Regions from separate parts of the Homo sapiens genome. Here all the other regions are linked to region 2. Evidence: promoter capture Hi-C in 16 types of primary human blood cells and fetal thymus (Javierre and others, 2016). All regions are on one chromosome and are shown on one strand. Each heading gives the region's core, a stretch centred on a gene start or on the middle of the fragment in contact. The rest is flanking DNA. Distances are from core to core; before and after follow the strand shown.

The links. The method cuts DNA at HindIII sites, captures the fragments that hold promoters and counts their contacts. A CHiCAGO score of 5 or more calls a contact.
Region 1: a fragment that was not itself captured here is called in contact with the fragment with the promoter of SFXN4 in region 2 in 6 of 17 cell types (total CD4 T cells, fetal thymus, total B cells and 3 more); the score reaches 10.1 in total CD4 T cells.
Region 3: a contact is called between a fragment that was not itself captured here and the fragment with the promoter of SFXN4 in region 2, in 1 of 17 cell types (total CD8 T cells). The highest score is 6.5, in total CD8 T cells.

The regions. Positions count from the first base shown.
Region 1 is chr10:119,864,890-119,869,322 of GRCh38, reverse strand. The region is part of intron 1 of MCMBP (minichromosome maintenance complex binding protein); the gene reads left to right. Among named protein-coding and RNA genes, the nearest start is that of MCMBP, 5.7 kb to the left of the region's middle. The HindIII fragment of the contact is 2,443 bases long and covers 1,246-3,688 here.
Region 2 is chr10:119,164,360-119,168,955 of GRCh38, reverse strand. It overlaps SFXN4 (sideroflexin 4), which reads left to right and starts at 3,242. Exons shown (of 14, transcript NM_213649.2): 1 at 3,242-3,419. The coding sequence starts at 3,309. PRDX3 (peroxiredoxin 3) reads left to right here. Exons shown (of 7, transcript NM_006793.5): 7 at 423-1,236. The coding sequence ends at 476. RefSeq lists silencers at 3,094-3,563, 3,605-3,791. The HindIII fragment of the contact is 6,667 bases long and covers 838-4,596 here.
Region 3 is chr10:119,829,581-119,833,794 of GRCh38, reverse strand. It overlaps MCMBP (minichromosome maintenance complex binding protein), which reads left to right. Exons shown (of 16, transcript NM_001256378.2): 15 at 1,695-1,783; 16 at 2,195-4,214. The coding sequence ends at 2,321. Among named protein-coding and RNA genes, the nearest start is that of MCMBP, 41 kb to the left of the region's middle. The HindIII fragment of the contact is 166 bases long and covers 1,823-1,988 here.

The DNA.
Region 1 (4,433 bases), core at 1,218-3,717, 700 kb before region 2:
GGATTGTAGGCGTGAGCCACCACACCGAGCCGCTAATTTTTGTATTTTTAGTAGAGACAGGATTTCACCATGTTAGCAAGGCTGGTCTCGAACAGGTGATCTGCCTGCCTCGGCCTCTCAAAGTGCTGGGATTATAGGCGTGAGCCACCGCGCCCGACCCAGACCCTCATCTCCAATGCTACTGTCAAAATTAAAGCCATCGTAGTCTCTTTCCTGGACGCTGGAACAGCCCTCTAACTGGTTTCTTGCCTCCAGTCTTGCTTCTCTTCCACCTGCCATACTGGAACCAAGTCCTTCAGTGACTTCTTGTTACCCTTACTATCTGATCCAGGACTTTTAAAGTGGTTTATGAGGCCCTTGTTGGCTCCACCCTTGCCTTGCTCTGAGACTTTATCACTGCGTACCCCCTCCTCATACTCCATCCCAGCCGCACTGAACCTTTTTTCAGTTCTTTAATTTTGAACCTGTGTCTAGGCCTTTTTGCATCTGCTGATTTCTTGTGCCTGATTCCCCCTCCCATCCCATGTCCACTTTTCTGGCTAAGTCTTACTTTTCCTTTGGGAACTTAAGTTAGGTACCAAAGTAGGGTACCCCTGCTCCATGTTACTGCAGGATCCTATTATATATGTCTTTGAAAAATAGTGTGTAAAGTGCATTGTTGAAATTCCTTGTTTCGGAAGTTCCTTTGCTGGATTTTGACCCCGCGAATTCAGGGCCCCTGTATCTGCATTATTCACCACTGTATCCTAATTTCTTAGAATTTGCCTTGTACATTGAAAGTGCTCAGTGGACACTTGTTGAACAAAAGCAGTGAAAAGACTGATTAATCAGAAATGTTGTTAATTGAAATGGCTAGTGAGATCACAAATCTCAAAATTTTTCTTTTCTTTTTTTCTGGAGTCAGTGTCTTGCTCTGTTGCCCAGGGTGGAGTGCAGTGGCGTGATCTCGGCTCACTGCAACCTCCGCCTTCTGGGTTCAAGCCATTCTCATGCCTCAGCCTCTCGAGTAGCTGGGATTAAAAGTGTGCACCACCATGCCTGGCTAATTTTTCTATTTTTAATAGAGACAGGGTTTTGCCATGTTGGCCAGGCTGGTCTTGAACTCCTGGCCTCAAGTGATCTGCCCCCACTTGGCCTCCCAGAGTGCTGAGATCTCAGGTGTGAGCTGCTGCGCCCAGCCTCTTTAGCTGTTTTCCCTTCAACTATTGGTTAGACCAAGATCATTATTCTCGTTATATTTAAGCTTCTTTGGTTGTATCTAACAGAACTAGACTAGCTCATGCAAAAAAGAGCAGGGTTGGGTGAAGAGGGGCAGAGCAGACTATTTTATCACTAGCATTTTAGAGAATTTAAAGCAATAATAAAATGAACTAAAAGTTAGTTGGTCTGCTTTTTATTATCACCATGAATCTAAACAGACAATCTGTGCCCTTATTGTCTGTACCCAGCTTGGACCTCTTCTACCACTCTGTCCTTGGTAGGCCACTGAAAAAAGTTAATTTATATTAAGGCTATAAAACCCAAGAACAGGGGAAGTGGTTGGGTATTCGAAGAGACTGAGTGGAATCAGGAACTGGAAAGCTAGCAGGAATCCAAGCAACTCAGTATTTCTTCTCTTGGGATACATTAATCTCTGCACACTTTCTCTTTCTCTACTCCATGTCTCCCAAATTTACTTGTTCTCGGTTCCAACCCACGCTAGCTAGCATCTTTATTTTCAGGCATAGAAAATCTGATTGGCACAACATGGAGTCAGGAATCCATTCACTCAGGGATCAGTCATCTGTGGCCATGGCACAGAGTTAGGTAGGACAATCGTGACTGTTATCCACACCTCAACATTGGGGGCGTTCTCAAAGAAGAAGAATAGCTCCGGCAGCCATGGCAGATGGCATACGTAGGAGTTTTTAAGTTATAATAACTTACACATGGTTTTAAAAAAAATCAACATGATGGTATGAACTGAGTGAAAGTACGTGCTCCCTCCATTGAAGTAACCACTTTTTTTTTTTTTTTTTTTTTTTTTTTTTGAGATGGAGTCTCGCTCTGTCGCCCAGGCTGGAGGGCAGTGGTGCGATTTCGGCTCACTGCAACCTCTCCCTCCCAGGTTCAAGCGATTCTCATGCCTCAGCCTCTTGAGTAGCTGGGACTACAGGCGACCACCACCACACCTGGCTAATTTTTGCATTTTTAGTAGAGTCGGGGCTTCACCGTGTTGGCCAGGATGGTCTCGACCTCCTCTGCCCTCGTGATCCACCACCCTCGGCCTCCCAAAGTGCTGGGATTAGAGGCATGAGCCACCGTGCCCTGCCTGAAGTAACCGCTTTTAACTGTTTTTGCTTTTAGAGGTTTTTTTCTTTGAGACAGAGTCTCGCTCTGTCACCCAGGCTAGAGTGCAGTGGCACGATCTCTGCTCACTGCAACCTCTACCTCCCAGGTTCAAGCAGTTCTACTGCCTCAGCCTCCCGAGTAGTTGGGACTACAGGCGCCTGCCACCACACCCAGCTAACTTTTTGTATTTTCGTAGAGATGGTGTTTCACTATGTTGCTCAGGCTGGTCCAAAAAAATTTTTTTTCTTTGAAATAAAATTCACATAACAAAATTTAACATTTTAAAATGTACAATTGAATTTTTTTTACTGTATTCATAATGATGTTGTGCAACCATCACCACCACTATCTTTTTCTCTTTTTTTTGAGACGGAGTCTCACTCTGTTGCCCAGGCTGGAGTGCAGTGGTGCAAACTTGGCTCACTGCAACCTCTGCTTACCGGGTTCAAGCGATTCTCTTGCCTCAGCCTCCCAAGTAGCTGGGATCACAAGCATGCACCACCATTCCTGGCTAATTTTTGTATTTTTAGTAGAGACGGAGTTTTACCATGTTGGTCAGGCTGCTCTTGAACTCCTGATCTCAGGTGATCCACACGCCTCGGCCTCCCAAAGTGTTGGGATTACAGGCATGAGCCACCACGCCCGGCCACCCCTATCATTTTCATCACTCCAAAAAGAAACCCCATACCTTTAGTAGTCTCTCCCATTTCTTCTGTCTTCCATCTCTGGCAACAACTATACTTCTGCCCATGGATTTACCTATTCTGGACGTTTCGTGTAGGTGGAATTATACAACATGTGGCCTTTGAGGTCTGGCTTCTTTTCATTTACCATGATATTTTCATGGTTCATCCATGTCATAGTATGCATCAGTACTGCATTCCTTTTTTTTTTTTTTTTAAGAGATAGAGCCTGGCTCTGTCGTCCAGGCTGGAATGCTGTGTGGCAAGATCATGGTTCACCGCAGCCTTGAACTTCCAGTCTCAAGTGATCCTGCAGCCTCAGCTTCCTGAGTAGCTGGGACTACAGGCATGTATTACCTGTATTACCACACCCAGCTAATTTTTAAATCATTTTTTGTAGATTTGGGGTCTCACTATGTTGCCCAGGCTACACTCAAACTCCTGGCCTCAAGTGACCCTCCCGCCTCGGCCTCCCAAAGTGCTGGGATTACAGATGTGAGCCACTGTACCCAGTCTGCATTCCTTTTTATGGCTGAAAATAACATTCCATTGTATGTCTATACTGCATTTTGTTTATCCATATATTTGCTGATGGACACTTAGGTTATTTCCTGGCTGTTATAAATACTGCTACTATAAACATTCATGTACAAGTTTTTGTGTGAATGTAAGCTTTTTGGTTCTTTCCCAGATATACCTAGGGATGGAATTGCAAGGTCATATGATAATTTTATATTTAACTTTTTGAGGAATTGCCAAACTTTTCCACAGTGGCTGCACCATTTTACTTCCCAGGTTCAAGCAATTCTCCTGCCTCAGCCTCCCAAGTAGCTGGGATTACAGGTACCACCAGCAAGCCCAGCTAACTTTTGTATTTTTAGTAGAGATGAGGTTTCACCATGTTGGCCAGGCTGGTCTCAAACTACTGATCTCAGGTAATCTGCCTGCCTTGGCCTCCCTAAGTGCTGGGATTACGGGCATAAGCCACTACGCCTGGCCTAAAATGTTTTTAAGAAAGGTTGTGTGAGAAGAGAACAAGAGGCACATTATATAATGTTAAAACAGTCAGTTCACCAAGAAGACCTAACTATATATGCACCAAGCAACAGAGCTTCAAAATGTATGATGCAAAAACCAGCAGAAATAAAAGAAGAAATAGGCAAATCTGCAATTGTAGTTAGATATTTTACTACTCCTCTCTCAGTACTTGACAGAATAGTGGGTAGAAAATCAAAAAGAATACTGAACAACACAAAACTACACAACACTGTCAACCAAGTAGATCTAATTGACATTTGTTTACCTAATGACAGCAGAATACACATTCTTTTCAAGTGCACATGTAAATTCACCAAGATAAACCACATTCTGGGTCATAAACCAAATAGTAAACTTTATATATAAGAAGAACACTTCTAA
Region 2 (4,596 bases), core at 1,993-4,492:
TCTCGCCCAGGCTGGAGTGCAGTGGCGCTCTCTCAGCTCACTGCAAGCTCCGCCTCCTGGGTTCACGCCATTGTCCTGCCTCAGCCTCCTGAGTAGCTGGGACTACAGGGCGCCCACCACCACGGCTAATTTTTTGAATTTTAGTAGAGACGGGGTTTCACCGTGTTAGCCAGGATGGTCTGGATCTCCTGACCTCGTGATCCACCCGCCTTGGCCTCCCAAAGTGCTGGGATTACCGGCGTGAGCCACCGTGCCCGGCCTAGAGACAGGCAGGCCTTAATGAAACTTTCATCTTTATGTTTTAAAGGAAATCTTTAAAAGTTTAAAGAACTTTAGGTTAAAAATTGGGAGATTGCCACTCACTTTTGGGACTATTATTATGGTAAAGTCACAGTTACCTAATTAAGCTTTTGTATTTTCAGATCAAGCCAAGTCCAGCTGCTTCCAAAGAGTACTTTCAGAAGGTAAATCAGTAGATCACCCATGTGTATCTGCACCTTCTCAACTGAGAGAAGAACCACAGTTGAAACCTGCTTTTATCATTTTCAAGATGGTTATTTGTAGAAGGCAAGGAACCAATTATGCTTGTATTCATAAGTATTACTCTAAATGTTTTGTTTTTGTAATTCTGGCTAAGACCTTTTAAACATGGTTAGTTGCTAGTACAAGGAATCCTTTATTGGTAACATCTTGGTGGCTGGCTAGCTAGTTTCTACAGAACATAATTTGCCTCTATAGAAGGCTATTCTTAGATCATGTCTCAATGGAAACACTCTTCTTTCTTAGCCTTACTTGAATCTTGCCTATAATAAAGTAGAGCAACACACATTGAAAGCTTCTGATCAACGGTCCTGAAATTTTCATCTTGAATGTCTTTGTATTAAACTGAATTTTCTTTTAAGCTAACAAAGATCATAATTTTCAATGATTAGCCGTGTAACTCCTGCAATGAATGTTTATGTGATTGAAGCAAATGTGAATCGTATTATTTTAAAAAGTGGCAGAGTGACTTAACTGATCATGCATGATCCCTCATCCCTGAAATTGAGTTTATGTAGTCATTTTACTTATTTTATTCATTAGCTAACTTTGTCTATGTATATTTCTAGATATTGATTAGTGTAATCGATTATAAAGGATATTTATCAAATCCAGGGATTGCATTTTGAAATTATAATTATTTTCTTTGCTGAAGTATTCATTGTAAAACATACAAAATAAACATATTTTAAAACATTTGCATTTTACCACCAGTAACTGTTGGATCAGCTTATTTTGGGCTCTCCTTTCCTTCTCAGATTATCAACAAACATTTATTGAGCATTTACCTCAGGGGCCACAAAGAGAATAAGATGCTGGTTCCGCACTCAAGGAACTCGGTTTAGGGGCAAGACAGATAGGGAAACATTTTCTCGTTGTTTCAGTAAATCCTTGAGTGCCTACCCCGCACCAGGTGCTGTTTTCCAGGCACAAGAGCGAACAACGGACAAACCCCTGCTTTTAAGCTCTTACATTCTAGAGGGGAAACACCTCATACATGTAGTAAAAGTAGAGTGTTTGGAAGGAAAATAATGTGGAGTGAAACTGCTGAAGCGGAGTTGTAGGTGTTCTAGATGGGGTTGTCAAGGAAGGCCTTAAGGGAGAGCCTCTCTGGATCAATTTTCTCATTGTAAAATGAGGACAATAATTGTACTTATCTCAGGGTTTTGATGAGCATCGAGGGAGAGAAAACGCGTAGAAAGTGAGAGTATTACGGGGATAAGAGACTTCTAGGCAGAGGGCAGGGAAAACACAAAGGCCGTGAGGCAAGAGTGGGCTCAGAGCGGATGCAGATTTACTAGGAGGCCGGTGACTATGGCTGTGGTGGGGGTCCCAGAGTGCCTTTTGGCCAGGCCAAGGACTTTAGGTTCTGTTCTGGGGTGGGGAATGTCAGGAAGGATTTGAAAAGAAGAGTGACATCAACTTGTTCTAAGAGAATCACTCTGGCTCCTTTGTTAAGACGACATAGCAGTCCAAAGTGGGGAAGCAGGCCAGCGGGCTGGCTTTGTGACATCCTGGAGGGTAGAGACAACAGAATAGAACAGCACGCTACATACTGCACTGGTGCTTAGATGGATTTCTGCGGCATAAGGGTAGAAGTGGAGGGGGCACCTTACTCAACTCGGAGGGTCAGGGAAGGCTTCCTGGAAGAGGAGATAAACCCCTGGAGGTTAAGAAAAGTGAGCTAGGCAAACTGAGCAAATACAGAAGCAGAGTCATACAGGCCTGAAGGACGCCATGAGCCAATTTCCTGTTCCTGGAGGCGCAGGGCAAGGGAAGGAATTGGCCCGCTGGAGGTTAATGGCCAATACTGAGCACTTCTGAGGGCTCAGTGCTGTGTTAGGGATGTTTTATCTCCTTTGATCAGAAACAAAACCCTGAGATAGGTACAATTGTTATCCTCATTTTGCGGATGGGAAAATAGACTTCGAGATACTGACTTGGCGAGGGTCACACAACTAGATGATGTGCTGGGTCCCCCAGTCCTGGACTCCGGAGGCCCCCTGAACGACCTAGGCACACTTGTGGCTTCCGTGAATTTAAGTGCACACAGCCCCCGCCTGGCCCTGTGCTGGGGAAGGGCAGGTGGGAGGAGGAAGGGAAGGCAGGTTTTTCTTTACAAATGGTACCTATTTGGTAGTCAACAAAAGGAACTGGATTTGCCCCAACACTGGAAGAAAAAAAAAAACAACCTGTTGGGCTGAGGGATAGTGCACTGTGCCCAGGGCCCTATACTTGGTTTGATGCTCTGGTGTTACTCTCTTGAAATTCTCAGTAACATGAATAAGGGGCACCGCATTTGACATTTTCCCTGGGCTGAGACCATGATGCAGCCGGCCTGACTGCGCAACACCATGCACACTGGAATTCGTGGGCCATCGGAGGGATTTTCGAGGGTAATGACCAGGGGTAGGGCGCGGCAGAAGCGCAGGGTGAGGTTGCGGACGGCCTCACTCACAACCTTTCCGGGTCTTCGCATTAGGTACTGTGATGACGGGTTCCGATAGTGACCCCTTGGGGCCTGGAGACGGCCCGGCTCCCCAAAGGTGCGGAGCAGGGCAAGCAGGGTTGGGAGGACGTGGCCCGTGGGAGAGCTGCGCTCGCCGGAACAGTGGGCGCGCAAGGGCCCCGAGGCGCTGTGACACGGGACGTCGGGCGCGCGGGCCTGGGGCGGGAACTGCGGGTGCGCGCGGCCCGGGGCGGGGCTCGCCGCCCGGCTCCTCCTCCACGCGCGGCCTGGCGGCGGCGGCCACTCTAACCAGCGCAAAATGTCCCTGGAACAGGAGGAGGAAACGCAACCTGGGCGGCTCCTAGGACGCAGAGACGCCGTCCCCGCCTTCATTGAGCCCAACGTGCGCTTCTGGATCACCGAGCGCCAAGTACGGCCCGGGCCCGGCGCGACTAGGGGCAGGGAGGGGGCGGGCCGGGCCGCGTGGAGTCGGGCTGACCCGGGTGACCTTGGCCAGGCCACGTGGGCGCCCCCTGTCTCCGTTTCCTCCTCTCGGAGTTGTGCCGGGAACGCGCACCACCGGCCTTCACCCCTTAGGGCGCGGCAGGGGACGCAGGGGAAATCGAAGCTGCCAGATGCCCACGACCACAACGTCACCCTCCAGATTGCCCTCTCGGAGGGGCCCAGTCCGCGCAGGTGGCTGCTCCCTACTGCCTGAGCTGTGGCTGAGCAGCAGATTGGGGAGAAACAGGCTCTCGCACCTTGGTAAGCTCAGCCACTTTCGGTGAGACCCCCGAGGCTTTGGGAAGCCACCCTTGGGCAGGACATAAGCAGGACTTATCTCCCTGCAGCGTCTAGGGCAGCACCGTCCAATAGAAATATGATGTGAGCCTTACAGGTAATTAAACATTTTCTAGTAGCCACATTAAACAAGATAAAAACAGCTGAAATTTTTAACAATACAGTACATTTAGCCTAGCAGGTGCAAAATATTAACATTTCAACATGTAATCAGTAAAAAACATTGCTGAGATATTTTACTCGCTTTTTTGGTACAGAGTGTTCCAAATCCGGCGTCTGTTACCTTCACAGCACATCTGGGTTCAGCCGCATGTGGCGAATTGGAGAGCAGGGCTTTAGGGGGTTCTCTTTGAGGCCTCTCCTAAAGTGGGGTCCAGCCCTGTTTTTTTTTTAGGTGGGGAAATTGAGAAGGGGCGGTGAGCTCAGGTTGCTCCAGCAGAGCCAAGGCTTAAAGCCAGAACCACTACAAAGTTTAGAGTTTGCTGGAGCAAACCTCTTTTTCCCCAGTGTGACCCCAGCTGCACCATTGAGCCCTTAATGGGGCGTCCATCCTTTGTCACTGGAGTGAAGCCTTATAGCAAGCAGAGAGTGAGGCCACAGACTCTTGAGATATTCTAGGCCATTGCTTCGAGGTCGTATGTGAGATATGAACGTAAGACCATTTGAACCCCCAAAGTCTGGGATTTTAACCCTCAAGGGCAATTTGATACTGAGAGGTTAAGGGCACAGACTTCTGAATCATTTCCTGGCTGTGTTGCCTTGAGTACATTCAGGAGTCCCTCTAAGCCTCAGCTTCCTCACCTGGA
Region 3 (4,214 bases), core at 656-3,155, 670 kb before region 2:
CTTTTTGTCTAATGTTTGAGTTTCCTCTGGGACAGTTTTCTACTGACTCCCTTATCCCCAAAGTGTGAGCCATACCTTCTGGTTTCTTTGTACTTTTTTGTTGAAAACCAGACATTTTATTTGGTCAGTGGGGTCTCACTGTATCACCCAGGCTGGAATAGTAAGTAGCACAGCCACAGCTCACTGCAGCCTTAAACTGCTGGGCTCAAGTGATCCTCTTGCCTCAGTAGCTGGGACCATAGGTGTGCACCACCATGCCCAACTAAAGTTTTGTTTTTTTGTTTTTTCTTTTCTTTTTTTTTCTTTCTTTTTTTTTTTGTAGTGATGAGGTCTTGCTTTATTGCCTAGGCTGGTCAACTCCTGGCTTCAAGTAGTCCTCCCACCTTGGCCTCCCAATGTGTTGGGATTACAGGTGTAAGCCACCACATCTAGCCACAACCAGACATTTTAAATTATATAATATGGCAACTCTGCTTTGGAAGTTACTCTGGAAATTAAACCTCCCTAGGGTTTATTGTTGTTGCTGTTTGTTACTGTTGGTAGGTTGTTTAGTAACTTTTTTGACTAATTCTATAAAGTCTGTATCTTTGTCACATGTGGGCACTGAAGTCTCTGCTCTGTTAGTTTTGTGGTTAATGATTGGAAAGAAATTTCCTTAAATGCTGGGTAGTAGTCTCCCAGTCTACGGGTGAATAATAATCATAAATAAAAATAAAAGTTGGGGCAAGCCCTCAGTTCAACACTTAGCCATGCAATTTACAAGCCTTAGCCTTCATTTCCTGCTCGCACAGAGCCTCCAGGTCATGCAGAGGTGGGAGCTATGGTCTCTGAGCATGTCTGCAGCCTTCTGAGTTCCTAGGAGTTACATACTTAAGGTTTTCAGAGCCCTCTACAGACATGTCATTTCCCAGCTAGCTTTTCCATTGAAGGGTTTGGGTTAGTCTGTCTGCCGCAGCTGTTACCCAGTGTCTCAGGTAGCTAAGGTGATTGGTAATTTCTTCCGATTGTTTTTGATAAATGCCCTGGGGAAAGAGGTGGTTCATAGTAGACAGGCTTCCAGTCAGGTTAAATAAAGACAACCTTGCAAATGGGTCCTTCCAGGGAGCCACCAGACAGGTGGTCAGATGACAGTTCTCCGGGAATGGCACTTGGAAGGAGCCCTAGCCCTGTTCTCTCTCCGGTGGCTGCCAGGCTGTTGATTTTTGAAGCTACTAATTATCGCCTGGAGGGGAAGGGGTTGGAATTTAGGAGTAGGACATGTTAAAATGCTGCCAGGCTCAACATTCTTACCAATAATCACCTGGTTTTCTTGCATAAATGCTCTCTGGATTGCTGCAAGTATGGTTTTATTTCTAGTTTTTAAAAAGCTGATTTTGATCAGTGTTAACAGTAGAGACAGTTTTCTGCGGTCCCTTCTCTGCCATTTTCACTAACATCACTCTTCCTTTGTGGAAAAGCATTGTTTCCTATGCCAGTTGCTGATTTATATGTTTGCTTGACCTTAAATGAATCTGAGTTTCATTATTTTATTTTCATCAGCAGCATTATGTATGTATATGCTTTGGTACTTTCACCCATATTGCCTCCTTTGTCTAAGAGGCTGACATGCACCTTACTACATCAGTCAAGGAACCATGTTAATTTTCTTTTCCTTACAAAAATGCACATCATTTACATTTACTCTTTTGATAAAGGCAGTTGAAGATGACTTTGTGGAAATGCGGAAGAACGACCCTCAGAGCATCACTGCTGATGATCTTCACCAGCTGCTCGTGGTGGCTCGGTAAGTGGCGCACGTCCATTATTGCTGTTTCGGTAAGCTTGTGTATATGTCTTCTGAGTTATTCAGCAGTAACTGAGGCAGAATTCTAAAAACGGAAATGAACTTTTCCTTTTAAAAACGCTGTATGAAAGGGCTCATTGAGGGGGAATCGAGTTTGGCTGGTGATCTCTTCAGTGGAACAGGCATGCTGCTTGTTCTCTAAGCTTCAAAGAGTGAGCCACTTTCCAATTCTGACTCTTCAACGATTTCTTTTTAGAAGCCTAACTTGGCTGTTGACTTGTGTGTAACTACCATACGGTCTTGTCTCCTAACGTGCTCTGTGTTTTCACAAAGTATTCCTAGGTCTTAAAAAAAATTTAAAACTTACTATCCCAGCTCTAGACTTAAATTTGTTTCTGTGTTTCAAACCAGGTGTCTGTCTCTCAGTGCTGGTCAGACAACGCTGTCAAGAGAACGATGGCTGAGAGCAAAGCAGCTAGAGTCTTTAAGAAGAACGAGGCTTCAGCAGCAAAAATGTGTGAATGGAAATGAACTTTAAAGATGTAATACCTATGAAGAGTAATGGGCAAACTGTAGCCACATAATTGTAAAATTCAGATATTCATTTATACCACATTGTTTTATAGGTAATTTCTATCACAAACCAGTGACATTTCCTGAAATCAAGCCTGGTAACACCTGATGTTTATATGATATTCAGTAAGGACTTTTACCTTACTGATTTCATGGAGCTTTTGAAGTTTGTTTTATAATAATTATATAAATTAGTAATGATGTAAAAAAAGTATTTGATATTAAAAGTTTAATATTGATAATGTTGCTGATTGTACCATTTCCTTAGCTTCAGCTGAGTCATAGGCCAGACTGTTGAAATGCTGAAATGAAGAAGGTTGTTGCAGTTTCAAAGTCAGAGGAATCGTGCTTCGGATTTCTTATGTTTTCTAGTTCTCTGTTTTTCCAGTTCACAGTGGGTTGGGGTGCATTCAGTAGTCCATCTTTGGGGAACGGAGGCGTACTTGCCATTGATTCACATGACTACATGAAATTCTGTACTGTCATTTCCCAGATGTTTGGCCACAGAAACTTTTTCCCACTTAACATTTGTTAACAGCCTGCAAAACTAAACTTGTACATGGCAGTGGTTCCCAGACTTTTGTATTTTATGGACCGGTAGTAATATTTCCAAAAATCTGGGGTACTATAAGGTTGCCAATTTACCTTGCCAAGTAATCCGAATAAATCACTGTATTATCACCATTTTTTTCATAAAAGGAAAGGACAATCTATCTCTGAATAAGAGGAGTCCTTTAAACGGAATGAATGTGGCTTTTGGGGGCAAAAGAAACCAAGACACTACATTGTCTTTATTTTCTCCTATCCCAGTGCATTTGAGAACCATGCATAAGGGAATGCTGTGCTACAAAGCTGTGCCCAAATATGAAAACAAAATAGGAAACTTAAAAAGCAATACCCCCTTTAGAAAGTTTTTATTTTCTTAAATGTCATTGAGTTGCTTTGATTCTATTGGATTTTTGGCATTTTTTATGGGATCATCAGTTGGTTCCAAGTATGTTAGATCAGCTAACATCTGCTACTCCAGTAACAGCCTCGTACAACTGCAGGTAGGTTTTCTCCAGACCAATTAGTTTTAATAGAGCAAACTAACAACAGACTGTAGTAGCATGGTTATGGCAACCAGAATCTTCAGAAAGGTTAGGACATTACTTTTTAAGCTGTCAGTGGTATCAAATAACTTACCTAGTTGGAGGCAGATAAAGGATCCCTTACGTTTTTTCCTATAAGGCCTAAATTGAAATTGTTAACCAAGGAAACAGGGTCAGCCTTGAAAAATCAAGGAATTCATTGTACCTAATAACTGAAGTAAAAATAACTAGTTGTTCAACTTTTCCTAAACTCAAATCTATTTTTATAAACAAATGTAAATAATGTTTATATTAGAGTTGAACTGGTTTTCATTTTTATAACTGGTAGACTAGACCTTCCTTAAACTTTTAGAAATAAAATGAAGGCTTCACTGGATTTGTGAGGATAAAATACATTTTCTTTAATTGTCCTAGAGCAAAGTACATTAGTCACCATGTGTTTTTTGTGCCAATGTAAATTGTAATTTACCAAAGAAAAATACATACATTGCTTGGTCTTGCAGAAAAGTTCCCTTGAAAGAACCTTTCCAATAAATAAAACGTCCCAAATTAGCAGTACCTTGGGCTGTTTTTCATGAGTAAGAAGATTCACCATCCCATGTGATCTGTGTGGAAAAAGACCATGTCCTCTTGGTGGAAGACATGAGAGAGCTGAACTGAAGTGGAGGAGGTGGTGCAAGAGGGACCTTCCTGCTCAAGGCCCGCCCAGGCAGCGGAATGGAGTGCAGTGCTTGGCTGCAGAAACCCTTTGTCCCTCACCTATATAT